Linked DNA regions of Homo sapiens: all the other regions are linked to region 2. The links are contacts of gene promoters, found by promoter capture Hi-C in blood cells and fetal thymus (Javierre and others, 2016). All regions are on one chromosome and are shown on one strand. Each heading gives the region's core, a stretch centred on a gene start or on the middle of the fragment in contact. The rest is flanking DNA. Distances are from core to core; before and after follow the strand shown. Region 1 overlaps COL15A1 (collagen type XV alpha 1 chain). Region 2 holds the start of GALNT12 (polypeptide N-acetylgalactosaminyltransferase 12). Region 3 overlaps COL15A1 (collagen type XV alpha 1 chain). Region 4 overlaps COL15A1 (collagen type XV alpha 1 chain).

The links. Contacts are between HindIII fragments. The CHiCAGO score rates a contact against its expected background, and 5 or more counts as called.
Region 1: a contact is called between a fragment that was not itself captured here and the fragment with the promoter of GALNT12 in region 2, in 1 of 17 cell types (M0 macrophages). The highest score is 5.0, in M0 macrophages.
Region 3: a contact is called between a fragment that was not itself captured here and the fragment with the promoter of GALNT12 in region 2, in 3 of 17 cell types (M2 macrophages, M0 macrophages and M1 macrophages). The highest score is 15.4, in M2 macrophages.
Region 4: a contact is called between a fragment that was not itself captured here and the fragment with the promoter of GALNT12 in region 2, in 1 of 17 cell types (M0 macrophages). The highest score is 6.3, in M0 macrophages.

What each region holds. Positions count from the first base shown.
Region 1 is chr9:99,037,325-99,044,319 of GRCh38, reverse strand. COL15A1 (collagen type XV alpha 1 chain) reads right to left here. Exons shown (of 42, transcript NM_001855.5): 22 at 5,587-5,652; 23 at 3,764-3,799; 24 at 2,213-2,275. Among named protein-coding and RNA genes, the nearest start is that of TGFBR1, 64 kb to the left of the region's middle. The HindIII fragment of the contact is 1,578 bases long and covers 3,145-4,722 here.
Region 2 is chr9:98,805,775-98,812,953 of GRCh38, reverse strand. It overlaps GALNT12 (polypeptide N-acetylgalactosaminyltransferase 12), which reads right to left and starts at 5,284. Exons shown (of 10, transcript NM_024642.5): 1 at 4,885-5,284. The coding sequence starts at 5,255. LOC124902229 (a long non-coding RNA gene) reads left to right here and starts at 5,374. Exons shown (of 2, transcript XR_007061689.1): 1 at 5,374-6,183. RefSeq lists silencers at 5,143-5,212, 5,313-5,402. The HindIII fragment of the contact is 2,789 bases long and covers 3,527-6,315 here.
Region 3 is chr9:98,992,738-98,999,293 of GRCh38, reverse strand. It overlaps COL15A1 (collagen type XV alpha 1 chain), which reads right to left. Exons shown (of 42, transcript NM_001855.5): 6 at 2,213-2,360. Among named protein-coding and RNA genes, the nearest start is that of COL15A1-AS1, 51 kb to the right of the region's middle. RefSeq lists enhancers at 1-244, 245-1,001. The HindIII fragment of the contact is 1,735 bases long and covers 749-2,483 here.
Region 4 is chr9:98,972,995-98,980,237 of GRCh38, reverse strand. The region is part of intron 2 of COL15A1 (collagen type XV alpha 1 chain); the gene reads right to left. Among named protein-coding and RNA genes, the nearest start is that of COL15A1-AS1, 32 kb to the right of the region's middle. The HindIII fragment of the contact is 712 bases long and covers 1,749-2,460 here.

The sequences.
Region 1 (6,995 bases), core at 2,684-5,183, 230 kb before region 2:
GTTACCGTCCTAAGGCACAGGACAGTCCTGTCTTCCATGCCCCTTCAGGCTCCCACTGATAACAGATTTGCATCCTCACTCTCAACCCTCCAGGATCCAGCCCCAGTGTGGTCCTGTCTATCTCCTGCCACATGGTGCCCTCAAGGAAGCTCTGGCTCCCAATGTATTTGACAGCTTGCTTTCCTAGCAACTCAACCTGAGATCTGTTCCCACCAAGAATACTTATTCTTGTTAAAACACCTGAAATTAGGAAAGAGATGACGGTATAAAAACTAGAGGCCTCTGTCAACATGGAGGCCTTATGTCTCCATATGCAACGTTGCCTCCAAACTCTAAGCTCCTGTGCAAACACTTACTTAGTTAGGCAAAGCTATCCCAGACATTAGGAATGAGTGATGGGTAGACTGGTGGCAAGAACACAGGATCCTGACCCCAATCCTGTCCTCAGCAGAGACATCTACTATGCTAGAGGCTGCTGAGAAGATGATTGTCAAGAGAACAAGACTGGGTGCAGAAACCTTCTATCTGACTCTGAGGCTTTGGCCCTAAACTTCAATGCTGGCCCCTGGGGAGCAGGGCTGAGCCACACAGAAGTCTCTTTTCAATGGGGCTGGGAGTAGCTAGGACAGTAGCATCAAAGCAAGCAGAGCAGCCTCTTTCTTCCATCCCCCTAAGCCCACACCTGGTATTTAGATCTTACCACTCCACTGATGAGGAAAGGTAGTCCTGAGCACGCCAGCAGGGAGAAGAAGCAAGCACAAAAGCATTAGAGGCAGAGTGAGAGAAAGCACGTTCACTGCAATGGCCAGAGCAGAACTGCCCGGCTGCCTGGACCAGTCATTCAAGGTGGCAGGAGGTTAGGGCGGGGATGTCATGTCCGTCCCTCTAGATCCATCTGACCTTACCACATAGGAAACAGAGTGTTTAAACAGAGTGTTTAAAGCAAGAGGTGCTCTTGCTTCCCTGGGCCTCCTCCCAAGCCTGAGCTGGCCAGCCCTGGTCCATCTCCACAGGCCTGTGGCAGGAAAAGCATCCCAAGACACATCCCCACGTGATGCCAAACCTTCACCCAGCATACCGAGCCCTCCATGCCCTGGAGCAGTGGCCCACTAGATATTGGAGGCCCTCTCCTCCTTGGAGACCATTATATTATAGAATGATGGGGGGAGAGAAGAACGAGAGGAGTTCCCCCATCCCACAGAGCACACCCACCCTCCTTGACTCCCCATGGCAGGCTCAGGGGGTTGCACAGTGCTCCCACTGGCTTTGCACAGAGCTCCATTCCAGCTGTAAGCATGTGCTCTGTTAGCTCTTTGCATATCTCTTCCTCATCTTATTTCTATATCCCTACGCCTAGCACAGGAAACTGCCTGGCACACCACACGGGTCAGTGGACGAAAGATGGATGAGTATATACATGGACGAGTGAATATATTAATCTGTTTATGGACGTCACTCTCCCCCTTATCTATAAAAACCAACTGGAAAGTTAATTCTAAGAGGCAAACACAAAAGAATACAAGCACAACAATAGGTTTGGTACCCTGGGAGTTCTCAGGAAGTGTTCTGTGTGCTAAGTATTTATTCCAGAGACTTTGGACCAAGACTGTTGTTCAACTGCAGAATGCTCAATTTATAATTTATAAATATTAACATTTGTTCTACTCATTAATTATACATGCTTTCGTCCAACAAGTGTATTCAGTACCATTTGTATACCAGGCCCCATATTAGTATTGGAGCTATGGAAAAGAAGCTGGCAGGATGCCTGTCCTCAGGCAGTGCATGTTCTAAGGGGGATGCCCAGCAGGTGGTTAGACAAAGCACAGTGTGTGTGAGAACAAAGGAGTGTTGAGTTGAGTTCTCTTTCCAAATTATGGTAAAAATCAATTTCACTACCCACTTCGTACCTTCTCGTCTCATAGAGAACCTGGAGATTAAAAAAGTTAACAGCTGGAGAGTGACCGCTAATAAGTATGGGGTTTCTTTCTGGTATGATGAAAATGTTCTAGAATTACAGAGTGGTTCATGAGGTTGTACAACCTTATGAGCCCACCAAAAATCACTGAATTGTACAATTTAAAGGGGTGAATTTTATGGCATGTGAATTGTATCTCAAAGAAGAGAAAAGTTAATAGCTATTTTCAGCCAATCTGAAACGTTTAGCAAATTCCAGCGCCCAATCTCACTCAGATACCTGGGCCCCTCTTACCTGTTCTCCTTTTAGTCCTGGAAAGCCAGGTAAACCAGTGTCACCTTTTGGTCCTCTAGGACCCTGGAAGGAATTGTTATATAGTATTTGGTTGTTCGTTAAGATTAAAATGCATAAACCAATCAGAAATATATTTTTTCTCAACAGTAGAATACACACTGCCATCCCCCAGGTAGGTGGAAGTCATGATTACCTATGACATTTTCTTAACCTTAAGTGGTCCAGAAACTGTGGTCTGGCAGAAAGAAGATAGCACTGAGTGTTAAGAGGCCTTGAGGCTTCACACTTTTTTGAACATTGGTTTCCTCCAACTGGGCACTACTGATCCAGCCTATTATCTGGGCCTGCTGCATCTGCTTGCCCCACGGCTCCTCCAGGCCACCCTGCAGCCCGCCTCCTCCACTATCCCCTTCCACGACTCCCACCCCTTCTCTGGCTCCCCACTACCTATGAGATGGGACCCAGGTACCTTAGCCTGGCACCCCAGCCCATCCCAGCCAGGCATCAACATCTCATCTCCCACACCATCAGGTTGACTCCCTTCCCGCAGCCTCTCTGCACTCCTCCATTGCTTCTGCACCAGCACTCATGCCACCCCCCCCATAGGAATGCCCACCCACCCCTCTGCAGAGCCAAATCCACACATGCAGCCAGAGGCAACCTCTTCTCAACTCCAACAGACACTGAATGCCTGTGACAATGACTCACACAGCCACATCTGCCTCAAAAAGGCATTTCAACACTTTATTGCTATTTTAACTTTTCACAAGTTCCTGTCTTGTCTGGATGAAAGAGTGAATTACCCATTACAGCAGTGGCTTTCAACTATTTGTTATTATTGTTTAGCAGTGAAACTCTTTTCCTTCCTTTTTTTTCCCCCAAATAAAGTCTTAAATGAAAGCCTAATATATACAAATATGTCCAGTGAAGCTTCCCTTATTGAAGGTCAGTGGCCTGGAATGTGCCTATTTGGCCCCCTCCTTACTCCCTGCAGTGGAGGTCCTGGAGGCTCTCCTGCAGAGCCTGGGACTCCCTCAGGAACACAGGACCACTCATTTAGAGGAAAGTGTGCTCTGAAATGTGCCCCAGGTCTTGGAGCAGCCAAGCCGGGGCTGGAGCTTAGGGGTTTGGCCTTTTCTTCTGCTAACCAAGAATCATGGTCAGAGTCATGGTCACAATCGTGGTCATGGTTGCCATTCTCTCTTTTGTTTTTTAACGTCTAGTTAGCACTATTTTTAGTGTTATCATATGATATGTGCCTTTAGAAAATGTAAAAAGTTCAGAAAATCAGCCAGGCTCAGGGGCTCATGCTTGTAATCCCAGCACTTTGGGAGGCTGACGCAGATGGATTTCTTGAGCTCAGGAGTTCCAGACCAGCCTGGGCAACATGGCAAAACCCCATATCTATCAAAAATATCAAGAAAAAGTTAATGAACAAGATGCCCCTGGAGCTCAGTCATGCATAGATGGAGGAAATGCCATTCTAGGTGGAAGGAACAGAATGATCGCAGCCACGGGGCACAGATAGAAGACAGCGAGGGTGGTACTTACTGGAAATCCTGGCAGCCCAGGCAACCCGTCCGGCCCCTGTGACACACCAAAGATAGAGCACGCTGGATTAGGAGCGGCATTTCCAGAGTCAGCAGGACCCCCTCCCTCCCAGCCCCTTCCAAAGGCCTCAGCATGTTCCCACAGCTGGGAAGACGGATTGACACAGCATTAGGGAAGAAGGGGCCCTGTGAGGGTCTGGATTTGCCAAGGGGAGGACAGTGACTGGAAAGAAAGCAAGGAAGAGAGAGAAGGGGTGGAGGCATGGTAATGCAGGCAGACAAGGCCCAGGGACTGTGAGGACAGGGATGCCCAATCTCTGGTTTTAGTCTCTCTGTGTTTTGCTTCAGTATCCACCCACCTAATATCAGAAACCTCCAATAGCTTGGGGAAAACAAAGACCCCTTGGGAAGAAACTTTCACTTGTTAGCTGGTTTGCTCTAGGGTTTCATTATTGAGGTATTTTGGATTATTGGTTTTCATAGAAATCAAATGGATGCAGTACAGAGGAGACAGGAAGATGGCTCACAATGAGGTCACTCAGCAGGGGAGAAACCTGGTGCCAGAAGAGTCTGCAGATATTTGCAGGAATCTTGGGGCAGCACTAGATTTTCCCCTGGATCTGGATGAATGGGATTCAGGGCAACCTCATGGGGATCTGCAGGAGAGGCAGGGACATCGGCATTGCACAGCTGTGAAGGCATAAACCTGTCTCCACAATGACTTGCACAGAGCGTCACAGTGTGCTAAGCAGTTTCACATCCCTCACTTCTTACAAGTTGCCTCAAAGGCTGGTGAGGTGTCATCAGAGAAGAGAATTAGGGGCTCAGAGTGGTGTGTGGAGAAGATGGGGCTGCAACCTCAAGGCTCCTAAGGCCAGAGCTCCTTCCTTTCTCCTGTGCTGACCAGCAGATGCTGGGAGATGCAATGAGTATTTATTCTACAGGCTGTAGGAGGAAGCTTCCTTCATCTTAGGGCCATTGTGCCATGAGTCAACTCTGCCAACTTGCAGAAATAATGTATATTTTGGTTTTTTTTGTTTGTTTGTTTTGAGATAGAGTCTCACTTTGTCACCCAGCCTGGGGTGCAGTAGTGCGATCTTGGCTCACTGCAACCTCCGCCTCCCAGGTTCAAGTGATTCTCGTGCCTCAGCCTCCCAAGTAGCTAGGATTACAGGCACATGCCACCATGCCCAGCTAATTTTTGTATTTTTAGTAGAGACAGGGTTTCAACATGTTGGCCAGGCTGGTCTCAAACTCCTGATCTCATGATCTGCCTGCCTCAGCCTCCCAAAGTGTTGGGATTACAGGCGTGAGCCACCACTTCTGGCCAAAAATAATGTGTATTTCTTATATACATTATAATCCCATTTTAGAGATCTGGAAATTAACACACAGATAATTTCCAGAGTTCTAAAATGGGGCTATAAAGACTAGAATGAGTCCATTTCTTCCTCGTTTCCCTTGAGCACAAGGAAAGGTGTCTCCAGGCTCTTCCTATACTATGAAATAAGATAATGTAAATAAAAGCAGGCCAAAAGTGTGCAACAGATGTCATCTGTTTGTTACTTAGCATTCTCTAATTTCCATGACACATATTGCCGGTGCACAGGACTGGAAGCTTCCACTGCTTTGGAGACAACTTTCCACATGATCAAATTAATGTGAAAGCAACTTTTCAAAAAATGCAAAGCTTTCTTTCCATTCTACTTTGATATATTCTAGCTCTACGCTTCAGGAGCTAAAAGGATTCCAAAGTAACCCGACTTTGTTTCAACAGGGGCGTCTGGGTAAAAGCCACATTCTGGGGCAGCTGTAGATACCAACCGGAGGCCCCACCAGCTCAGGAATGTCCGAGAAATTCATGAATCCATGGGTGATATTGATCAAGGACTGAAAAGAGAAAAATCAGACAATGAGGACAAAGGATGGCATGTGTTCTGCCTTGTTCCTGGCAGCAAAGCTTTAATTAAAGTCACCCAGCATAGCGGAACACCGCAGACACTGAGAACGCCCTCAGCCCACTGCCAAACACAGCTCTCCCTCCCCCTTCTTATAAAACAGCTCTGAGCTGCCTTCGCACTTTCCTCCTTTACTTAATTTTTAAATCACACAATATACGAATGTCTTCTCTTTTTAGAGTTTAAACATATACATATTATATGCACCCACAGAAAGCACAGTGTTGGGGTGTGTGTGTTTGTCCATGTGGTTATTTTACATAAATGGCATCAGGCTGTATTACTCCTCAACTTGCTTTTTTCACTCGGCCATATTGTGTGGAGATCTTTCCATGTGGAATTTTGGAATATGAATATTTTTAGCTTTAAAAGACTGCCAAAGAGCCATCCAAAGGGGCCAATTTACACTTCCACCAGAAGCACATGAGATTACCTTTTTCCCCACACCCTTACACATATTTGATTTTTAAAAATCGTGTTTTTTTTTTCTTCTAACTTTAGTCATCCTTTTTCCAGTTATTTGGGGCTTGTCTTTCTGTGGTCTACCAGCATGATGTTATTTCTCTCTAAAGGGCCAGGATTTTTCATGATGTGATGTCTTAATATTAAATGCATGCGATCTGGTCCCAGCCCACATTCCAGCCTTCTCTCCAATTTCCATCATTCTCTACACACACCCATGTGCACTATCCTCTGCCAGTCAGCTCCCTCGACCTGGAGCACACCACATTGTCCTACCCTCTGCTTTGGCTCAGGGCATCCCTGACACTAGAGCTTTGGAAGTTCTGTCCTCCGTGCCTACCTGGTAAAATCCTTCTCAGCTTTCCAATCCCTGCTCAAAGATACTTCCTCTAGGAAGTCTTCCTTGATTCCTCATAACCCAAACAGTCTTTTCTCCCTTGTTCCCCTCTTTATGTTCATTTGCCTGTCAGTTACAGCTCTGTTACAGCCCTTCTCCTGACCTCACTGGAGGCTCCTTGAAGACAGGAACTCTGTCTTACTTATCTTTATTTTTAATTTTTTAAAATAGAAACTTTTTTAATATCAGAGACAGGGTCTTGCTATGTTGCCCAGGCTGGTCTTAAGCTCTTGGGCTCAAGCAGTCCTCCTGCCTCGGCCTCTCAAAGTGCTGAGATTACAGGTGTGAGCCACTGTGCCTGGCCTTACTTATCTTTATACCCACAGAGCCTAGCATGGACCTGATGCAGAGTGCATGCCCATGAGTGCTTATGCCAGAGTATTTATCATAGGAATAGAGAATTCAATGACACCAAA
Region 2 (7,179 bases), core at 4,035-6,534:
AATGGCATACAAATTAGGAGAGAAGATGATCAATACTAAAGCATTCTATGGTCCATAGTTAATATTTAATTTTAGACTTTGTTGAGTTAAATATGTACTTTAAAATTTACCACTAAGGTTAGAAATAGATAATATAACTACTAAATTAGTAGAGAGGAAAAAAATGGAATGAGGGGAAAAGCCTCTATCGACTCAAAAAGCAGTAGGAAAAAAGAGGGGGAAAACACCAAAAAAGCATAACAAATGAAAACATAAAATAAGACAGCACTATCAAATCCAAAAGCATCAGTAAGCACAATAAATGTAAGTGGATATAACTATCTTGTTAAAAGTTAATGATTGTCAGTTTGGATTTTTCTTTTTAAATGGAGTCTTGTTCTGTCGCCCAGGCTGGAGTACAGTGGTGCAATCTTGGCTCACTGCAACCTCCAGCCTCCTGGGTTCAAGTAATTCTCCTGCCTCAGCCTCCCAAGTAGCTGGGACTACAGACACCCACCACCACGCCCAGCTAATTTTTCTATTTTTAGTACAGACAGGTTTTCACCATGTTGGCCAGGCTAATCTCGAACTCCTGACCTCAAGTGATCCACCCACCTCGGCCTTCCAAAGTGTTGAGATTATAGGCGTGAGCCACCACTCCTGGCCTGGATTTTTTTTTAATGACAACACAAAATCGAGCAACATACTATTCAAAGACACACCAAAAACATATGGACACAGAATGAGTGAAAGAAAAAGGTATCAGGAAAATACTAACCGAAATTGAACATGTTCTGTGGATTTGAAGTACTGGAGTACTGACTCAAGAAAGAATGCCACTCTGATGTTCTCAAGATGGATCTAATAAGAATTCATAAAATATCCACAACTTTGTTGGGGAAACAAAATAAACATCAGTCTAATGTCCTACTCCCTTCTGCAACCCTAGCAAGACATACTTTTGCTTAATTACCTGTTTAGAACCACTTTGAGGCTGGGCATGGTGGCTCACGCCTATAATCCCAGCACTTTGGGAGGCCAACACGGGCAGATCTCCTGAGGTCAGGAGTCTGAGACCAGCCTGGCCAACATAGTGAAACCCCGTGTCTACTAAAAATACAAAAATTAGCTGGGTGTGGTGGCGCTTGCCTATAATCCCAGCTACTCGGGAGGCTGAGGCAGGAGAATGGCTTGAACCCAGGAGGTGGAGGTTGCAGTGAGCCAAGATCGCACCATTGTACTCCAGCCTGGGCAACATAGCAAGACTCCATCTCAAAAAAAAAAAAAAAAAGAACGACTTCGAGACTCTTTGCCATCCCAGCACCCAAATCCTGACCCCTGAACTCAGACACACATCTGCAATTATAGTATTAACAAGCCTAAAACCAGAGCAAGTCAAGAAATAAAAACACCATGCTTTCCTTGACCAATGGTTCACAGTTCTTCTGCCCTGGTAGAGAATGGCTGGTGTTCACACATATGGGATTCCTGTCATAGATAGACCTGAAGAAATGTCCAGCCCTGAGGGCACTGTCTGTTACTCCACTCTCTCTTCTACTAAATATCAGAATGCAAATGAGAATGATGTTACAGTGATCATCTCAAGTTCCCCGTATTCTATGGAAACTAAAACTTTTTGCAAATTTTGGTACAACATTACTAATAACCATTTCCTTGTGACACACCACTCAGTTGACTATGATGTCATCACTGGCTTGAACTACATTTGACCTGTTATTAATCCTTACTTTCTCTAGTTCTGGTATTCTCCACACCCTCCAAAACACTCACCCTAAATCTTCTGACTCAGAAATCCACAGGCTCTAGGCCAGTAGCTTTCACCCGTGGTTGCATATCAGATTCAGCCTAGGTCCTAGCCACAGATATTCTGATTTCATTGTTTTGGGGAAGATTCCTGGCATCAATATATTTTTTAAAGTTCCCCAGGGCCACACACCCAACTATCTGTCTCCCCACTTTGACCCGCTATCATCTCAGAGTAAAAATTCACCTTCTTTGCTGAGATGCTAGTCATACTATACTACTATGCTTACTGACTTACTTACTATACTTATTTATATTAATATATATTAATACTTACTATGTTACCATGCAAGGAAGGATTCCTAGTCATCATTAGCCTCCTCTTCAATTCAGTGCTGTAACTAACAAAACTATACTCGAATCCACTGGCATGTAAATTATTAGATTCATAGAGGGGCCCAGGTCTATACTGGCTCTCACAGAATTAGGACCAGTACTCTAAAATGTCTTTTTAGTGGTCTGGCCTTCTTCAAGAAGGCAGACACAGTGCCACACCCTGCTGACACCAGGAAGAGTCAAACCAAGTGGTCCCTTAGTCATTCCCAACTCCTTTCCTCTGATAAAAGGCACTGCAGAGTAAAGACTTTCATTAAAAGTCTAGGAGGCACAGCAAAATGTTAACAATGGTTCTCCCTGAGTGGTAGGTTTATTGGGGATTTTCATTTTTTTCCTTTTCTGTTTCTCTGTGCATGCCAACATTTCTAGAGTGAATATGCATTGCTTTCATAATTAAAATAAACATAGAAATAATCATCCCCACCCAAAAAGGGAGGAACGAGTAACAGATATGGACTGTGGCTCTGCCTGAGATGTGCTATGTGACCTGGGGGTGTGGCTTTTCCTCTCTGGTTAGACTAGATGCTCCTCCCTCAGGGCCCTCCCTCCTGCAACATTCAAGGACCCTCATTATCCCTCTGTTTATTAGACTCGCAGAGAACCCCATACCCACACTGTGAACTTATGATCTGCCATTCAGGTTTCTCAGGCAAAATCTCAAGACCCTGATTAGCTCCTGGATGAACTGTAATAAAAGTGAGATGCCACAAAATACCCTGACCCTACTGACCACTCTGAAGTTACATCTCAAAGCCTGGCCCAACAGAGACCCACACAGCTCAGGCTCACCTTTCTCTCTGGCTGGGTAAGAATAACCCAACAGGCCTTGCTGCAGGAATTAGAAGCAGGAGGCATTCACACTCCTTATCATGCTGGGTTTGGCTTAACTTCCAGGGTCAATGCAACAGCAGGATCTACAAGCAAATCCTGAGAGGACACAGGGCAGCTGCGTCACCATGGAGACAGGTTACCATAAGCCCCACAGATTGTCCACAGTGTTTCAAAGAGATATTCACAACCTGCGACAATAAAGGAAGTTGGATCCAGGAAAGAAAAACTACAACCAATCCCTGGATGACTCTCAAAAGCAACCTCTTGAGTACATTCTTGGCAACAGGGAAAGGTGAAAAAACTAAGATTTAAGCACACAGTGTGCTCCCAGGTATTGATGCTTTATTAATTCCTAAGTTGTGTTCTTTCCACTCACTTTTATGTAGAATGCATGGAGACTCACTTTTATGAGTTTCCTATTTCGCAAACGAAGGGAAACCAAGGCTCTGAGAGGCTAAGCAGCTTGCCAGAGATCACAGAAGTGACGAGCAAAAGAACCAGGATTTTATCTCCCCTGGGCTGGATTTAATCTGAAGCTGGGTATAACCTGAAAGCTTCCCCTCCACCTTGCCTCAGCGGGCACCCTCGGGGTTTCGAGGAGCTAAACATGCGTTAGGCTGGTGAGTGGAGGAACTACTATCAATCCCAACAAAGTTTTATTCAAAAAGACTAACAGTGAAAAATGCCTCAGGCAGAAGCATGAGGCTAGGCATGAGGAGATCCCCAAAACAGGGAAGACAGTGGAAACAGTGGGGCAGAGGTGGGGCATCCTCATTCCATCATTCATGGTCTCTCTGGCCAAGGTACCATGGAGCAGGCCCCTAAAATCCTGAGATCAGCATGGTGCCAAGTGGGCCAGAAGGGCCATAGTCCCTCCAGACCAGTCCTACCACATTCCAGCTGAGGGGCCTTGGGTGGGTCACCTATCCTTTCCGAACCTATTTCCACACCTGTAAAGCAGGAATGGCTTGAAGGGGAGAGGAGTGGCAGGTGCCTGGTGCACACGGCAGGCTGCCACCACCAGCTCCAATGGGAACCCCCTCTCTGAGTCCTCTTTTCCTCAAAGTCTGTAAGGAAGGGGCTCAAAAAAGGACTTGGAAGATCCCTGACACTTCGAAGAAAAAGTGAGAGCCCGGGAGGCCCAGCGGCAAAGGTGGCAGCAGCCACCTGTCCTTCCTCCTGCTGCCAGCGTGTGCCCTGGATCCCCACCTAGGCAGGGGCGCAACCTGCCCAGCCAGTAGCTCCAACAGGAACTAGGCCTCTGACCACGCTGGCTCCAGTCCAGCACCACCCACAGGAGTGAGCTGGGGTGGATCACGGCCAGAAGGAGCCCTTCCCACCCCGTGCCCCTTCCCGCCTTCCTCCACCCAAAGCTCAGAAATCCAATGCCCAGGGAGAGCACAAGGAGGCTTTCTAGCGCTGAGGGGGCCTTACAGCCATCTTTCGCTTCACCTGTGGGGCGCTCCCTCGCATCTTGTTTGTCCCTTAGGCCCTGGCACACACAGAGAATGAATGGAGCCGGTCACCGCCCGGAGGAGTTGTCAGTTTCGCGGAGGCACTGCGAGGCGGGCAGAGCGGGGTTGTCCTTTGGGTGCTGGGGGGTCCTCGCCTTAAACCCTTCTGCTTAGCCCTGACCCTCACCTTTTCAGGGAGATGATAACTTCTCAAGGAGAAGGGAGCTAAGAGATCACTAACAGACTTGCCAATTTCTGGTAATTTTTTTTCTACTTTCGTCTTTTTTACTTTCTTGCCTCCCCGCCCCCATGTGAGCTCTTACACTATCGTCTTCGGAGAAAGACTCAATAAGACGCGCCATCCTGGAGACCCCAGCTCCCCGCCCTGCCACTGCTCTGATGGAGAAACTGAGGCCCGGGGCTCTGAGGGCGGGCTTCCTCCCCAGAGCTGTGCACTCACAGCGGGTTCCAGCGCTCGGGCAGGCGGCGGTGCAGTGAGATGCGGTCGCTGAGGTAGATGTTAATCTGGTGCAGCCGCACGCTCTCCTCCTGCAGCCGCAGCTCCTCGCCCTGCAGCTGCAGCCGCACCGCCTCGCCCCGCGCGCCCAGCGCGTTCGCCGGCACCGGCGGCCGCGGCATGACCGGCTCGCGCCGCCCGGGGCGCGGGGTGCGCGGGGGTCCCGGCTCGGCAGCCCCGGCCCCGGCCCCACGCTGCGCCCGCAGCACCGAGCCCAGCCCGGCCAACGCCAGTAGCGCCAGGAGCACCAACAGCGCCTCCCGGCCGCGCCGCAGTTCCCGCGGGCAGCGCCGCCGCGCCGTGCGCCCCCACATGCGCCCGCCAACTGCAGCCAGCGATCTGCGCGCCCCAAGGCGGCGGTGGAGGCCAGGACCCGGATCCCGGAACCGCCGTGCCGCCCCGCCCCCGGCCCGCCCCACCTGCGCGCCGCCCCCTTTCCGTCCAGCCCCGCGCCAGCCCAAGCGCAGCCCCCGGGGTGGCTCATTTCGGCAGGGTCTTCAAGTGGGCTGGCTGAGACTTGCATCTTCCTTCTTGGGCTATGGTGCATTATTAAAGAGATAGTGGTGGTAAAACCCTTAGCGCCTGGCATATTGTAGGCGCTAAGTGTTGGCTGAATACACCCTGCAGGGTGTTATGAATTCTACTGCCATTATCTCATCTGATCTTTACACAGTCCAATAAAACAACCATCAACTAGGATTACGAGCTCCCTTTTACAGATGAGGAGATGGAGGTGCGATGAGATCAACAGACACCACGCTGCCCCACTGACTTCTGCAGGCCCAGCCTCTGCCATACTCTTTGGAGTCCTTGAATAGCAAACCCTCGCCTGGCTCGCCTCGTGATAGCTCTGTGACCTCTGAGGCTAGGAGCAAAAGGCCATGAAGGCTGTACATGATAGTTCACACCTGTAATCCCAGGCCGAGATAGGAGGATCACTTGAAGCCAGGAGCTTAAAACGAGACTGGTCAACATAGCAAGACTCCCATCTCTACAGAAAAATTTCAGAATTAGCCATGCATGGTGGCACGTGCCTATAGTGCCAGCTACTCAGGATGCTGAAGCAGGAGGATTGTGTGAGCCCAGGAATTGGAGGTTACCGTGAACTATGCGCCACTGCGCTGCAGCCTGGATGACAAAGCGAGATCCTGTTTCTATTAAACAACAACCAAAAAAGGCCATGAAGCTGCCGCCCTGTTCATGAGATCACTGCTGTGGGAGCCTTGAGCTGCCAGGGACGAAGTAAGTCTAATGGAGTAGACAAATATTAAAAAGATAATTAGAATTGTGTTAAGTATTTTGAAGAAGAATTACAGGGCGCTAAAAGGGCTTAGAATAGTAGAACTTGATCTAGTTTGGGGGTTTTGGAAAGCTTCTCTGATGAAGTAATGTCTACACAGATATCTGAATGTAAAAGTGATAGCAGAGATTTCAAATCATATCTTAAATTAATCTGGAACTCCCTCTGCTGGTGTCTAGCTCAGGGAAAAGAATCATTCTGTATCCCCTGTAGAAGGATAGAGTGTAAGCTCTATTTGTTGTTGTTTGTTTTACCATGGGAAGTTGGTCCAAAGCTTTTTATCAAATATTCTCAAGGAGACCAGAAGCCCAGAAAGTTTAAAAAGCACAAATCTGGTCCAATTATCTCATTGATAAATGCGGGGTCTGAGACACAGGGTGGGGAGAGGACCTTGAACTTGGCGGCTCAGGTAGAGGTAGAATCTGACTTGCTGTTGTCTTCATACAGCCTTTGGCTACTGGTATCCCCAGAGGAAATCTCCCTCAGGTTGCAGGAGGGGGGTGGGTTTTGGGATGAACCATGCAAAGCAGCTCCCACTCAGGACAACCTGCTGCTAATATTAGACTAGAGGGAAGTGGCTCTTCCCACAGTGCTCAGGGCCCCGCCTGCTTCCCACGCAGAATGGAGGCTGCTGGTTAATGCCAGAAGGCGGTTGTGTTAGGTAGGTCTGGACCTGAGCCCTTTGGCCTCTGTTCAGACACCCAACACATTTAAGATCTGCGGTCAGATTAGAAAACAGACAAGGATTACAATTCATAATGTCTTGGATCCGCTTGCCAAATTGGAATGCTTCTCAATAGAGGTTCAGATACAGAGAAAAGAGAAATGCAATTAGGCCTTACAAGACATGGACTTAAGCCCCAGGTAACAGATAAAAGCTATTGTTTACTGAGCACACACTGTGTGCTGTAAACTGCTGGACTTTCTTTTTCATGTAC
Region 3 (6,556 bases), core at 367-2,866, 190 kb before region 2:
GTATTATTAACCCTGGGAATGAGACTGAGACTGGGAAGGGCCCTGAAGCCAGGTCAGCCTGTCCCCGGGCCAGGCCCTTCCCACACACGCTGTGCTCACGCAGGTCCCATGGTCACAATAACTCTGGAAGAGGTGCCAAATCCTCCAAAGGACTCTGCCCCCCTCCCCACCCACTCCTGTCCCATCCTGTGATGGAAGAGTGGCCAGCACGGGTCGAGCACTCTCGTCTTCCCTGCTCTGACCACCAGGGGGTGCCGTGCAAGCAGCCGATTGCCTGTCCTCCAAGGACTGACCCCTGGGAAGAAGGAGGTGGGGTGGCCCCTTCCACGGGTCACGATGGTGTCAGGGAAGCTCTGAATGCAAATATTAGGGGCTTTGCTTAGCCAGGGCTTTCTCCCACCATCCGGGCTGTCTACACATCAAGAAGAAAAGGACACTTTGGCTAGCTCCATTGCTTTCAACTGACCTTTTGTCTGCTAGATAAGGAGTGTGGCTGATCCCGGGAACAGGCGAGCTGCGTTGGGATCAGAGCCCAGTCCCCACGTGGACCTCATCTTCTCAGTCTAGGAAAGCCCTCGCCCCAGCCCCTTCACCTTAACCCCTTGCTGAGAGATCCTAATTCCACCCCTGAGAAAAGCATTCGCAATTCAGAAGCCACTTCCACAACTGCGGCCAGATTCAGCCCTCTCATCCACCCAGCATCGGGGATTGTTCATGCTCCCAGAGGACGGCTAAGGAATCTGAAGCTTGGAAACTGATCAGCAACTTGCCCCAGGCCGACAGCAAATAGGGGGCTAGGCAGGGCCTCCTTCCAAGCTGTCTGACTCTCCCCAGCGGGCAGTATTTCCACAGCAACACCCTGCCTCCTTGGCTCTGTCATGACGTTATTAAATTATCCTACAATTTTTTCTCTCCAGTTCTCTATACTTTCTCTGACCCACAGACTCCCCAAATTTAGTTGTTAAAATAACACTCATTAACTGATGGCAGAAGCAAAAAGAATAGTGATATGTATTATTGTAGAAGACTTGTATTAATAAAATACGGAAGTACAATAAAAAAAGTAAAAACCATCCATAATCCTACCACTCAGAGATAACTGCTTATAACATTTTGATGAATATTACGTCTAATATGTGATGTATCTAATACACACACATCGCTCTACATAGCTATATGTAAATAGATATAAATAACATATATTCAAAATTAGGGTCATAGACATAATTTTGGAATTTGCTTTTTTGGTGGAATATACCACGAGCATGTCCCTGGGTCATTAAATCTTCTGTATCACCAGTGTCAGGGCTGTATGTATGAATGAAATAGAATTTGGCCGACCAATCCCTACTGTGGGCAGTTTGGGTTATTTTTGTTCCTAAGAACAGTGCTGCCAGGAATGATCTTGTACTTACATCTTCAGTCTGAAGTGACGGCCCCTCTGAGAAATGACAGAAACCACAAGCGATCTCAGGGCTTGGGCATATGCCAAGCTAGTGCCTGGGGGATAGTGTTTGACGCCTGGGCTTTTACCAGTGCTCCTCTGCACAGGTAGGGGGACAAGAGGCAGGGGCCAGAGCCCTGGATGGGCAGCCAGGGGACCAGCTCTTCTCCTAGGGACTGCTGCTGCCTTGCTGGGTAACTGGCCCCTCTCTGGCCATCAGTTTCTCACTTGTGCCACACAGGAGTTTAGCTGATCCTCTGAGAGTTGGGGAGTTTGTGGCAAAAGTCAGAATGGGTGGGGACTCTGGACTTAGCTCTTCCAAGTGTTGGTTTTTCCACCTATAAAATAGTGGCTAGTGCTACTGAGTAGGCGGTATGCTGTCGGTGTTGGAGACAAAATATCCAAACACTTGGCACACTGTAGGTATTCAACAAAGAGCAAGGATTATTACAAACTTTTCTGTTAAACCCCAGAAGGAATAGAATCTGGGAGTTAGAAGCTCCAGATCTGGGGGTTAGAAGATCTGCTATCTGAGCTCAAATGCCAGCTCTGCCATTCACAAGCTGTTTGCTCCTGGCTGGGTTACTTAACTTCTCTGTGGCTCAATTTCCTCCTCTTGTCTGTAAAATGAGGGTGGTTCTCACCCTTTCTTAAAGGGTTGAGGGGAAGGTTAAATGAGATTCTGTATGTTACATACATGGCCCCGGCTGGACACATAGTAATCACCCAATAAAAGGCCACTACGTAGGCATGTGCATCCGGACTTGCCTTGTTTGGGGCTGCTGTGCTGGATGATGCTCATGTTGGTGGTTTCCAGGGTCCCCTCGGGTACAGGTTCACCAGAAAGTTCCATGTCTTCAAAGGGGGAGGATGGAGTTGGAGGTGTGTTTATGGGTTCAACTTTTGCTTCTTTGGGCTGAAGGGAGGAAAAATGAGATGCAAAATGATTTACTTGGCAGTAAAGCAGAAGAAATGACAGAGAATATCACTGAAGAAAATAATATATCCACAAGATGCTGAATAAACCAAGGGGAAAGCTTGGCCCCACTTGGTGTCTACCTGGGCAATGGCTGCACCTCCCAGGGCCTGAAAGAGGTGCCTACTAGAGGTCATTAGATTCTGTTCACTTGACAGTGAGACTATTCATCTCAGCCAAAGCTCTCTGAGCACAGGGACCACATTTCTGTGATTCCCAAATCCCAGGTCAGCCAGAGGAGGTGCCCAGTAAAGATCTGTTAGAGGAGGGAATGATTGAATGAATTAGTGAACAAATGAATGAACCAGGCTGCACTCAATAAACTGCATATAAATTCAATGCCAGATATGAAAACACCTATGAAAATGAAAGACGGGTGTGGTTCCTTCCGAGGAAACTTCAGCATCTATATAGCTTTTCCAAAGCCAGTCAGTGTCTTAACCAACATTACCAACTAGAGAAAAGCAAACAAACAAAACCCCAACAGAAACACAGAGTGCTTCAGTGATCTACGCAGAAATCCTAGCATGGGCTCCAAAAGTCACAGCATCACCCCTGGACCCAAGCAGCAGCTCGCGGGACCCAGCGCTTGTCAGCATTCAGATAGCCTCATCACTTTCTAAGCTAAAGGGGCTGGGGGTGCATGGAAGAATCCTGTGAATCAGTGTTGAACTCGTGGTATGAACAAGAAACCAATCTTTGTTTTGTAAGGCACTAAGATTTTTGAGGTTAATTTGTTACTGCAGCATCACTTACCTTTCCTGACTAATAACAGAAGGTTATTTCCTTAATTCAGAATCTAGTAAATCAAAAAATTTCTGGTCCATGGAACAAGGAGGATTCTTGGAAGCCCCATCATTTAGAATTTAATAGTTCATTTCTTACAGTCAGACCTGGATCAAATCCCAGCTCTCCACTTATAAGCTTAGTTATGTTGGGCAAGTCATGGAGCTTCACTGAACCTCAGCTTCCTCCTCTGTAAAAATGAGGACAATAAAGAACTACTTGAAGGCAGGAAATAGAAAATGCATGGAAGGGCTAAGCACACCTTTATATTTAGTACATAAATATTCCATATTTGTTATTGAAAACACTGTAAGTACAGATGAGCAAAAAGAGAAATCACCTTGAGTCCTAACACCCAGAGACAATCACCATGGATTCTATTGTACTGTAAAATCTTCAGGGTGGAGGTGGGAGGAAAGGCTTTAAGGAGTTGGGCCTTGGAGAATGAGCAGGGTTTCAGAACACAGGGGTGGAGGGTTGATGAAAGTCAGGGCCTGGCAACTTGAGCTTGGCAAGAGCCCAGGGCTTGAGGAGGGAAGCAGTGGAACAGAGCCCAGGGAGGCAGGCAGAGGGAGGAGCTGGTTCTGTGGGGAGAAGAATGGGCTTGAACCCAAGGGCCACAGGCAGCCACTGGGGAGCATCGGGAGAGGGAGTGGTGGGGGCAGCTGTGTGTTTTAGAGAGTCCTCGCTGGTGGCAGTGTGATCATGGACTAGGGGAGCTGAGGCTTACGCCAGGTGACTGGGGGGTGGCAGTAAAGAAGTCCACAAGACAGGAACCAGGGCAGCAGTGGGAGCAGACAGCAGGCACCTCCCCAGGGGAGGTTGTGAACAAGACCAGGTGGGATGTCTCCATTTCACCCAGATGGATGTTCATCTAGCAGGGAAGATAAAGACCCCTGCCCAGGAGGTTCCTCTCCTCTCCCTGTGAGGGATCAAGGCAGAAGCCACTCCATCACTTGTTCAGGAACCAATGCTCAAGCCCCTGAATGCTCATCTCTAGTCTGGAGTGAGGCTGCTGGTGGCTGGTAGCAAAGGTGCTCTATAAGGCATTTGGACTTTGGGATGAGGCGGGCAGGGCAGGTGAGGGTTCAGGAAACATAGGAAGACAACGAGATGGGGGCTGAGCTCTGTAACTCAGGGTGGCTGAAGTTGTCAAACTCCCAACAAGGCATCCCAACCCCCCTGCAAGGACAGGGCATGGTTCTGGTGAATTGACCCTCAGGAGTGAGGGTAAGGGGACCTGCCTCAAATAGGTGGCTTTGGTTTTCAGAGGTCAATGTGAATGGGGATCCAGTGTGGCCTGTGACAAAATAGGAACCTCAAGTCTGAAGACTTGCTATTAAAAGTGTTGCAATTTGCTGAGTCCAGGCTCACGTCCACACAATCAGATTTACTCATTCTGCACATATTTCCAGAGGCCCTACCGTGTGCTAGGTCCTTGGCTGAGCCCTGGGGACACAGAAATGAATAACTAAGACAGCGTGTCTGTCCTCAAGCTGTCAGGTGATGGAGGATCCCCAGACCTAGACCAGACGCAACAAACCATGATTCGGAGTGATGCATGGGATGGCGTGAGTGAGAGCCAAGTGCGAGGAGGGGGCTTAGCTAAATAATGGCCTCCAAGGAGAGGATGTGGACTGGATCCTGAAGGCTAAGTAGGAACTTGCCAGGCAGAAATGGGAGCTGGGAGGGGCCCTCCAGGCAAACAGAACCGCAGGAACTAAGGCGCCATGGAGGGGAGAAAGTGCTCGGTCTGTCCAGAGAACTGTGAGCATCTGGGTGTGGTTGGGAAAGAGGCCCTGGCTGAGGACCAGAATCACCTGCAGAGCTTTTTGTCAATACAGATTCTAGGATCTTTCACTCCAGATCTACTGAAGCTGAACATCCAGGTCTACAGCCCAGGCAAGAATCTGCTTTTAAAGACCAATCCCCCCAACACAGTGCCTCCCCAACCCCCCATGCCACCCCCACCCCCAACACACACTTACACACAAATGACCCTGATGCACAGCCAGGGCTGAGAACCACAGGGATGTTAATTCCAACAGCATAGAACTTTCTGAAAATGCAAAGAATTGGATAGCAAGGACCCCAATCCTAAATGGGGAAGAAGGCAAGGAGGGGCAGACTTTGTAGTCCCTGACCACTCAGAAAGTCTGCAATTCAGTTCACTGGCGACGGCTCATGTCTCAAAGGGTGGCAGGCTGGAAAGGCTGAGGATGGGGAAGTGAGATTCATTCCAAGAAAGAAGTTAGACAGACAAGGGGCGGGCGGGGACTGTCTGAGCTGAAGAGGGAAATTCCCCGTCCTAGAGGGTGGCTGCCGGAAAATGCCATAAAGCCCTTCCAGGAGATGTTAAAAGGGGGAAGTCCCCAGCTCAGGGGTGGCATGACTGAGTGCACTCTGGACCCTGAGCTGGAGACCTGGCTCTGCCACCTCCAGGCTGGGTGCCTCCAGCAACCATCTCCATGGCCTCAGTGCCCTCCTATGTAGAAGAGACCCCAAACACCTCCCTGCAAATGAGACTAAAGGAAATGGAAGCATGTGGAAGAGCGTGAACTGTGGTGCAGACAGACGGGTGCACAGGGAAGGCATTCTGATGATCAGGAACAGACAGGTTAAGGTCAGGACCATCAGGCCTCGAGGCACAGCCCAGGGCAATCCCCTTAATAACTGAAGGCAGCCACAGGGGTTTGGCATGCCTGTCAGCCCAAGCCACTGGCCAACCAGGAGGCCCCAAGAGGAACGAGGCATCTGTACTATGCCCGGTGCTGAGTCCAGCACTGAGCTGCTCTCTGACACATCACATCACCTCCCTTAATCCTCACAACAAACCCACTGGTCAACAGTAGCAACAACAGGCACTGTCCAAGCATTTTGCACAGGGCAATTTGTCTAATTTTCACACTGACCCTATGAGGCAGGTCCACTCTATTGTAACCAAGGAGGAAACTGAGCCTTGGAGAGCTTAAGTCACTTGCTCAAGGTCAAGAGCTAGTAAGTGGCAGAGCTGGGATTCACGCTTGGTGGAACTCTGATATGCACCAGTTCCCATAAAACCACTGAGAAAAGTTGGGTTGGGGAAGCATGGAAAGAAAGTGTTAGAGGTTCCCCAGAGGCCACCAAGTCCATCAAATCACCAACAACTTTTTCTTTTTCACTTTTCCAGATAGTCTGGGGATTGATTTCATAGCCCCCCTTGGCTGACACGTGCCCCACATCTGCCCCAGTGCCTGCAGTGCCATGGTCCTGGGGAGGGTCCAAGCCTGGGGAGTGAGGCCTGGCTTGAGTCCTGACTTCACTACCCTGTGACCCTGGAAGAGGCACCCCACCTCCTGGGCATTCATTTT
Region 4 (7,243 bases), core at 855-3,354, 170 kb before region 2:
ACCCAGGGCTTATAGTGAATGAATGAACAAATGAATGAATGTGTACATATTCTCAAGTCCCCTCTTTTTTTTTTTTTGAGACAAGAGTCTTGCTCTGTTGCCCAGGTGGGAATGCAGTGGCATGATCACAGCTCACTGCAGCCTCCACCTCCCAGGCTTAAATGACCCTTCCACCTCTCAGCCTCCCAAATGTCTGGGGCTACAGGCATGCAGCATCACACTCAGCTAATTTTTTCATTTTTTTGTAGAGACAGGGTCTCGCTATATTGCCTACGTTGGTCTCGAGCTCCTGGAATCAGTGATTCTCCTGCCTCGGCCTCCCAAAATGCTGGGATTACAGGTGTGAGCCCCTGCGCTCAGCCTCCAATCACCTCATTTTAGAAAACACTAAACTAAGGTTAATAGAGAGGAAGTGTTTGCTGGCCATGAACTCAGATTTGATTCTCAATTGAATGCTTATCCTCTCCAGTTTACAACTTGCTTTAAAACAGAAATTAATTTTAGTTAAAAGATTGGTAAATTTGGTTAAATTTGACCACTTAGAAAAAAATGTTCTGCATAGAACTAATAAATAATAATAATAATAATAAAGATAATCCCTGCAATGTCAAAGAAAACCCCAAAACCATGAAATGACTGATATTTGCTACAAAAATCACAGCAACAAACTCATTTCTCTAATATGCAAAGTAAATGAATACCCAAAAGAAAAATGGGCAAAGAATAGAAAATTCTAGACACAGTAAAAGAAATTAAAATCTTAAACATATGAAAAATACTCAACCTCATTCATAATGATAGAATGAGTTAAGATTACGAAGGGATACCATTTTCCCTATCAGATTGGCAAAGACCAGAATACGCTGTGTTGGCAAGGGTTTAAGGCAGCAGGCCTTCTCCTGCGTTACTGGCAGGAGCATAAATTGTTATAACGTGGTGGGAGGCAATTTAATAACATTTATCAAAATGGCAAATGTGCATGTACTTGTTGACCCAGCAGTCATACGTCTATGAATTTTTTAACAGATAAAGTTACATATGTGAAATATAAAGTACATACACAAATATTCACAGCATCGTGGTTTAAATTTACCTAAAATTCCCATCTTTGGGAATGATTAATATAATAAATGATGACAGGTTCACACAACGAAATCCAAGGCAGCGTTTCAAAAGATGTGATTCCTTAAGTACTAATATGAAACAATCAAGATGTACTATATAAAAACAGACAAAATAAGGTGCAGAAGTGAATTGCTATCAGTTGGAAATGTATGTACTAATACAAATTAAATATACCATATATATTTAAATATATATGGTATATTACAATAGCTCTAGAAGAATACACAAGAAACGGGGCAGTGGTTGTCTCCAGGGAAGGAAGCTGGTGGCTGGGGGCTGGGAGACTTGCTTTTCACTGGATATCTTTTTATACTTTTTTCTATTTTACAGCATATACATGGTATGAAAAGTAAAGACATCTACATATTTTTAAAGAGATTATCTCCTTGCATCCACTTATAGAAATCATAAAACCTATTCTTCTTGCTTTTCCTCACTCAGATACAGCTTATCTTTGTACAGAAAGAAAGAAAAAAAGAAGGAAAAGAAACAAAGAAAACCACACATCCCACTGAGATTTCTTTTCTTTCCTCCACGGTTTAAAGACAAAAACAAAACAAAACCACAAACACCCTACTGAGAGCTCTGCTTTCTTCTTCGCTTATCCAATCCAGTAAAAAGCTTTTCCTCTATTTCCTCTCTCTTTCCTGCTGGGAACAGGAGGGGGAAGCCTCTTTCTGCTCGGAAAATTCCTGGTGCCACAGAGAGTAAAAGCACCAGAGCTTCACATCCTGTGGCTTGTTTCCAAGTGGTGTCTCTGAGGGATCCAGGGCCAGGTTAAGCGTTCAGGCGACACAGGGAGAAGGGCCTGAGAGGCTCCCACTCAGAAAGCTCATTGCTTAAACCAGCCTAGTGCTTCCCATGGCCAGTAGATCCAGGCTTGCATGTGGCAATTCTGGGAATTCTTATGCCTAGGAGTCTGCTTAAAAACAAAAATTCATGAATCTATCCAACATCCTTGTTTTCTAGACAGGGAAATTGATGTTCAGGGAGACTTCCATGGCCAGGAGGCACAGCCAGGAAGCAACAGATGGGGCAGCCAAGCAAGGGTGGACAGAGTCTTGGTACCACGAGTCCCAGAGCTGGTGCCCTCCCACAGCCCCGACCACTCCAGGTCCTGGCCAATGGTTGGTCAGCTGGAGAGGGGGCAAAGGAGGCAGCCTGCAGTGGAGAACATCCTCTTCCTTGGACACAGCTGGGATGAGACCCCTCCTTTGCCCTTTACCAAACACAAAGCCTTTGGGCGATGACTTCCTGGTGATCAGGGGAGGTCCCTGCCCACTTCCCATGTGGGGATTCAATGAGACGACAGATGGGAAATGCAAGGTATAAGCTTAACAAAAACCAAAGTCTGCAAAAAAGATCCCTTCCTAACCCTCCCACCCTCCATCCCCCTAGACCTCAGCCATTCAAGACAGGACACATGGATAGGCGCTGGCCCGCAGGCCTTGTTTCCACAGAGTCCGCCAAGAGGGAGGCCAGCCATGAATGTAGAGCAAGCCCAAGTCAGCCCCAGCAGCCCAGCTCTGCTCTCAGCAACCCCCACCACATCCTTCCACATCCACTGTCCCATGGCATGGCGTGGTAGGGGACGACCCCTGACCTGGAGTGACCCATGCTCACTCGCGGCTGCGCCTGGGCCTGCTGGCTCATTTCCCTTTGGCCTCCAGCAGGAGGGCCACCTGTTTAGGCAGCCACCAGGGAGGGGAGGAGAAGCCAGGGAGCCAAGACAAACAGGCCCAGCAACTGGGTCCATGGGCTTGACCTTGGATGGCTCTGTGCTGGGCAAGAAGGGAGGAGGGTGGAGATCACAGCTGGTGGGAAGACATCCCACCATTTTGGAGGGGACTGGGGACTGGCGTGGAGCATGCTGATGGAACTCTGCAGCCTGAGGATTCTTGGAAGCGGCCCACACTTATCCCCAGATAATAATACTTCTCTCAGAGGACAGTTGTGTGACTTAAATAAAATAATATACCTAAAATGTTTAGCACACTGCTTAGCACACAGAGTGCTTAATAAATGGTAGCTGCCATTTCTTTCCCTATTATTATTACCCTGCTATTTCCCATGCAATTGTCATACTGGAAAACTCAAGGTATCCTGAATGGGTCCTACATTTTACACCCTTGAGCCTTTGTGTATGCTGTTCCCTCCACTTGAGGAACTGCTCCACACATCTCAGGGCCCAACTTCAATGTCATCACCTCCTCCATGAAGTCTTCTTGGATTCCCCCACCAGGTAGTCTGGGCATTCCCGCTCCTGCACTTGGCCCTGACTCTATGTAGCATATATGGCATTATATGACTAAGGTGTTGGACCCTACCATCTTGGAACCTCCTTAAGTGTAGGAACTGGCGTCCACTTCTCCCTGTCTCCCCCACACCCAGGCTCTGTCCCTGAGCAGGTCCTCAGGAAGTGTTTGCTGGCTGAACTAAATCCTAGGCATTCCTGAATTGAAGGTGCCAGGCTCACAGTCTGAGGCCCTGGTGAGAGTCACTGAGGTCGGGCTCCAGTCTGACATCCAACAGTGACCTCACTGCATGCCCATCCATCACCTGAAAGTCCACGTTCCCTCCCATCTCCACGATGCTGGATCCACTGGCCCAGAGAGCCCATCTGGGAGGCATGAATCCATGGGGCAATGAGAGACCCAGGGAGGGGAGGAAGGACTCAGGTTCAAGACTCTGTCTGTGACCTTGGGCCAGCTAGTCCCCCTCCCTGATCTCAGTTTTCCCATCAGAGAGTTAGACCAGATAGACTCTCAGAGCCACATCCACTGTGATTTATTCTATGTATTTTCACTGCCTTCAAACACTTCCTGGGGCTGCATCTGACCGGTCTTATTCTCTCACTTCATTAATGCTTAGAGATAGCTTCATTTCCAATGGGGGTTTTCAACTTACTTTTCCAATTCATGAATTTGATCATATTTCTAAAGCTCCCACATTGTGCCTTGTGTAGTGCTGGAGACATGGAGCTAAGCCTGGAACATGTGTGCTCAAGCAGCTCACTATCTAGGTGACCATTAGTAGTCATCTGCTCCTATTACAAGCTCCAAAGCCTTCAATGGCTCCCCAGTGCCTTCAGCATAAAAGCAAAATTCTACTCGAGACACCCTCTGCTTCATCTCCTCATTCTCCCCCCGTGTCTTTGCCTTCACTCATGCTATTCCTTCTAGTGACATCACTCTTCCCCATCTTCTTACATCTAAATCTTTCCAGTCAGGCTCAGCTGCACCCCAACACACGGGGGCCCCACTCTCACTCTGCAAAAAGGGCCAAAGTCATCCCCCCTCCTCTAAACATCCACAGAGCCAAGGGGATGCTGTGAAGGAACGGACACAGGGAGAGACAACCTGAGCCTCCCTCCCTCAAATCTAGTTCAGACTCCTAAGTGCAGTTTTGGGGTGGCCCCTCCTCAGGGCGCAGAGAGGAGAAATCAGACGGTTTCAGAGACAGAGGAGGCAGAGGAAAATCTGAGCAGTCAGGGCAGGGTGCGACTTTCCTCCCAAGGGTCCAAAGCCAGTTTCCATGGAAACCAGGCAGAATCCCAGCCATGAAGAAACAAACAGAGCAGGGTTCAGGTTTTCCTTCCACACAGATGACAGCGATTTGGCCAGAGATGAAGAACAGGAGCGAACTCTCACCTCTCCTCCTCCTCTCTGCCACAGGCTCAGGGACATCATCTGGCACCTCCCCTACCCCGCTGGGCCTCGGTTTCCCCTTCCGTGCGATGGGCTGGATCAGTCCTTCCATCTGTGGGGTCCTGAAGCAGTGCCCGGGACTAGCCTGAGCTTTGGAGCCTTGCCTCCCTAGAGAACTGTAGCTGGCTTTGCAAAGCTCCCTCTCACAGACGATCATCTGGGACCTGAGCCCAGCGCTAGCGCTAGTTAGCATTTAAAGCCAGAGGAGGCTAAGGAGCGTTCCTCGCTCCAGGTGAAGGAGCGCTGCGGATATGTCCGGACGGAGGCGCGAGGGAGGCTGAGGACGCCCCGGGACCGTGCGCGGCAGCGGCTCCTGGCGGTCTCTACGGGAACTGCGCTTCCACCAACTGCAAGGAAGGCTTTCCACCTGCGCTGTGAACCGGGATCCCAACAACAGACTCAAAGCGAAAGGTCTGTTAAGGGACCCAAGAGAGCAGGTCTGAGGCCATGCAGTGAGTTTGGCCAAGCCAGGCCTAGAACCCATAACGCCTCCTTTCCCTCCTCTGCTGTTTCTCTGCACCGAGTGCTGGGAAAGGCTGAAGGTGCCCCTCCTGGGTTTCTACCATTCCCACACACGCCTCTAAAGACCGACGGCACACTTCAGTCAGCTTAAACGGGGCCACGGTGACTCCTGCAAGCGGGTGGGTGTATTCCCACTGGGGGGCCGGGGCTGAGGGGGTCCAGATGACCCTATACTGCCTGTGGCCTGGGGCTGGACCAGTAGGATGAGGGTATGTAGGGTAAGGTGGGGGGACTGCCCTTGGGACCCCAGAAGGGCTCCTCTCACCTGAGTTTCTTGGCACTCAGTCCCTGGGGAGAAGAGGAGGTGCTCAGTCCCCCTCCTCTGCGCCTGCAGCATGGGGGGCAGACCGTCGGAGAAGCCACGTGTCCCTCCTCCTTGCCCTTTGTCAGCTTGTCCTGCCAGCAAGTTGGGAGGGTGGGGTTCTTGCATCTTCTGGGACGGTTCTTTCCCTTCCCTTTGGACACCCCTACAGAGAGGTGGCCCCCAAGGACCCTGGGTATGTCTAAATCACATCTGGCATGTGACTTCCCTTTCTCCCACCTCCCTGGAGGGACAGGAGTTCAGCAACCGCAGACTGTGTGGGACAGTGCAGCTCACCACCTGGGGAGGAGCTTCCTACAATGCTCACCCATCCAAAGCCACCTGGCTTCCACCTGCTCATCTCCACTCACGGCCACCTGACCATTGCTGCACAATTCGAAGTCTTCGGAAGTCCTTTCTCATGTTGAACTGAGGCAACCGCCCCTGCAACTCCCACCCACCTGGCTGGGCCTAGCTCTCTACCCCTCTGAGACCACACACAAGTCGGCCTCAACTTCTACATCCTGACCTCTCAGATGTTGCATGGGGTGGTGGAAAGGGCCTCAGCCTGCAAGGTGGACTCTGCCACCAACTTGGCATATGACTTTGAGCAGTCCCTTCCCTTCTCTGAGCCTCAGGTTCAATATCTGTCAAACTAGAGCCTTGGACTAAATATTTTCCAAAGGCCCTTGCCAGGTCTGACAGCCTCATCGTCTGCCTCCTCCTTGTCTCCCGCCAGTGTTTCAGTTTTTCTAACCGCCCCTAACTGCCGGTTCTTTCAGTCCACAGCCTTCAGGCCTGGAAGGAATGACTCCAACAGGGGCCGGGACAAACCCAGCCCTCCCCACAGACTTCCTTGTCTTTAGCCAGCAAGGCCTGGCCAGAGGCAAGGAGCACTGTGCTCAGGAAAATGTCACAGCTCTCTGCCTGTGTGGAAACTCAGCCCCACCCAGGCTGGAGTCTCTGGGGGCTCCCGTTTCCACCTGACTCCCTTTCTGAGGAAAATGAACACAACACAATCCACGGTGCCTGAGGGTTTATCTGCACCCAGCAAAGGTGCGAGAGGTTCTTAGAAAAACCTATCACCCGATGCATTTCTTAAAAAAGAACTGTTTCCTTGCCAGGGAAAAAATCCTGGATCAACTTAGAAAGTAGACCTGGCTCGGCCACAATCAAAGACCCTATTTTTCTGAATTACAGAAGAGCATTTTTCTACATGTAAACTTAGAACGCCTCCTTCTCTTTTCCGGTTTTCATATATAGCATAGGAATTTTCCTGTTCAATGAAGTTACTGTATAAGCTCTCCTCCCTCTCTCTCTCTCTCTCCCTCTCTCTCTTTCTCTCTTGCTCTCTTGTTCTCTCGTTCTTGCTTTCTCGAGCCTCTGACCTAAACTGGAGAAGACGATTTGAGGAAGCCTGGAGCTGGGGTCCTGGCTGAAGCTTGGTTTTCCTGGCCAGCAGCTGAAAAGCACTTAGCCCAGCAGGAAGTAATCCTCACCTGTCCAGTATCCTCTTCTGTTTCCAAAGCATCCTCTTACCCGTTCCTTCTGCCAGGAGGCAGGCAACGCAGGGATCATTCTCTCATTT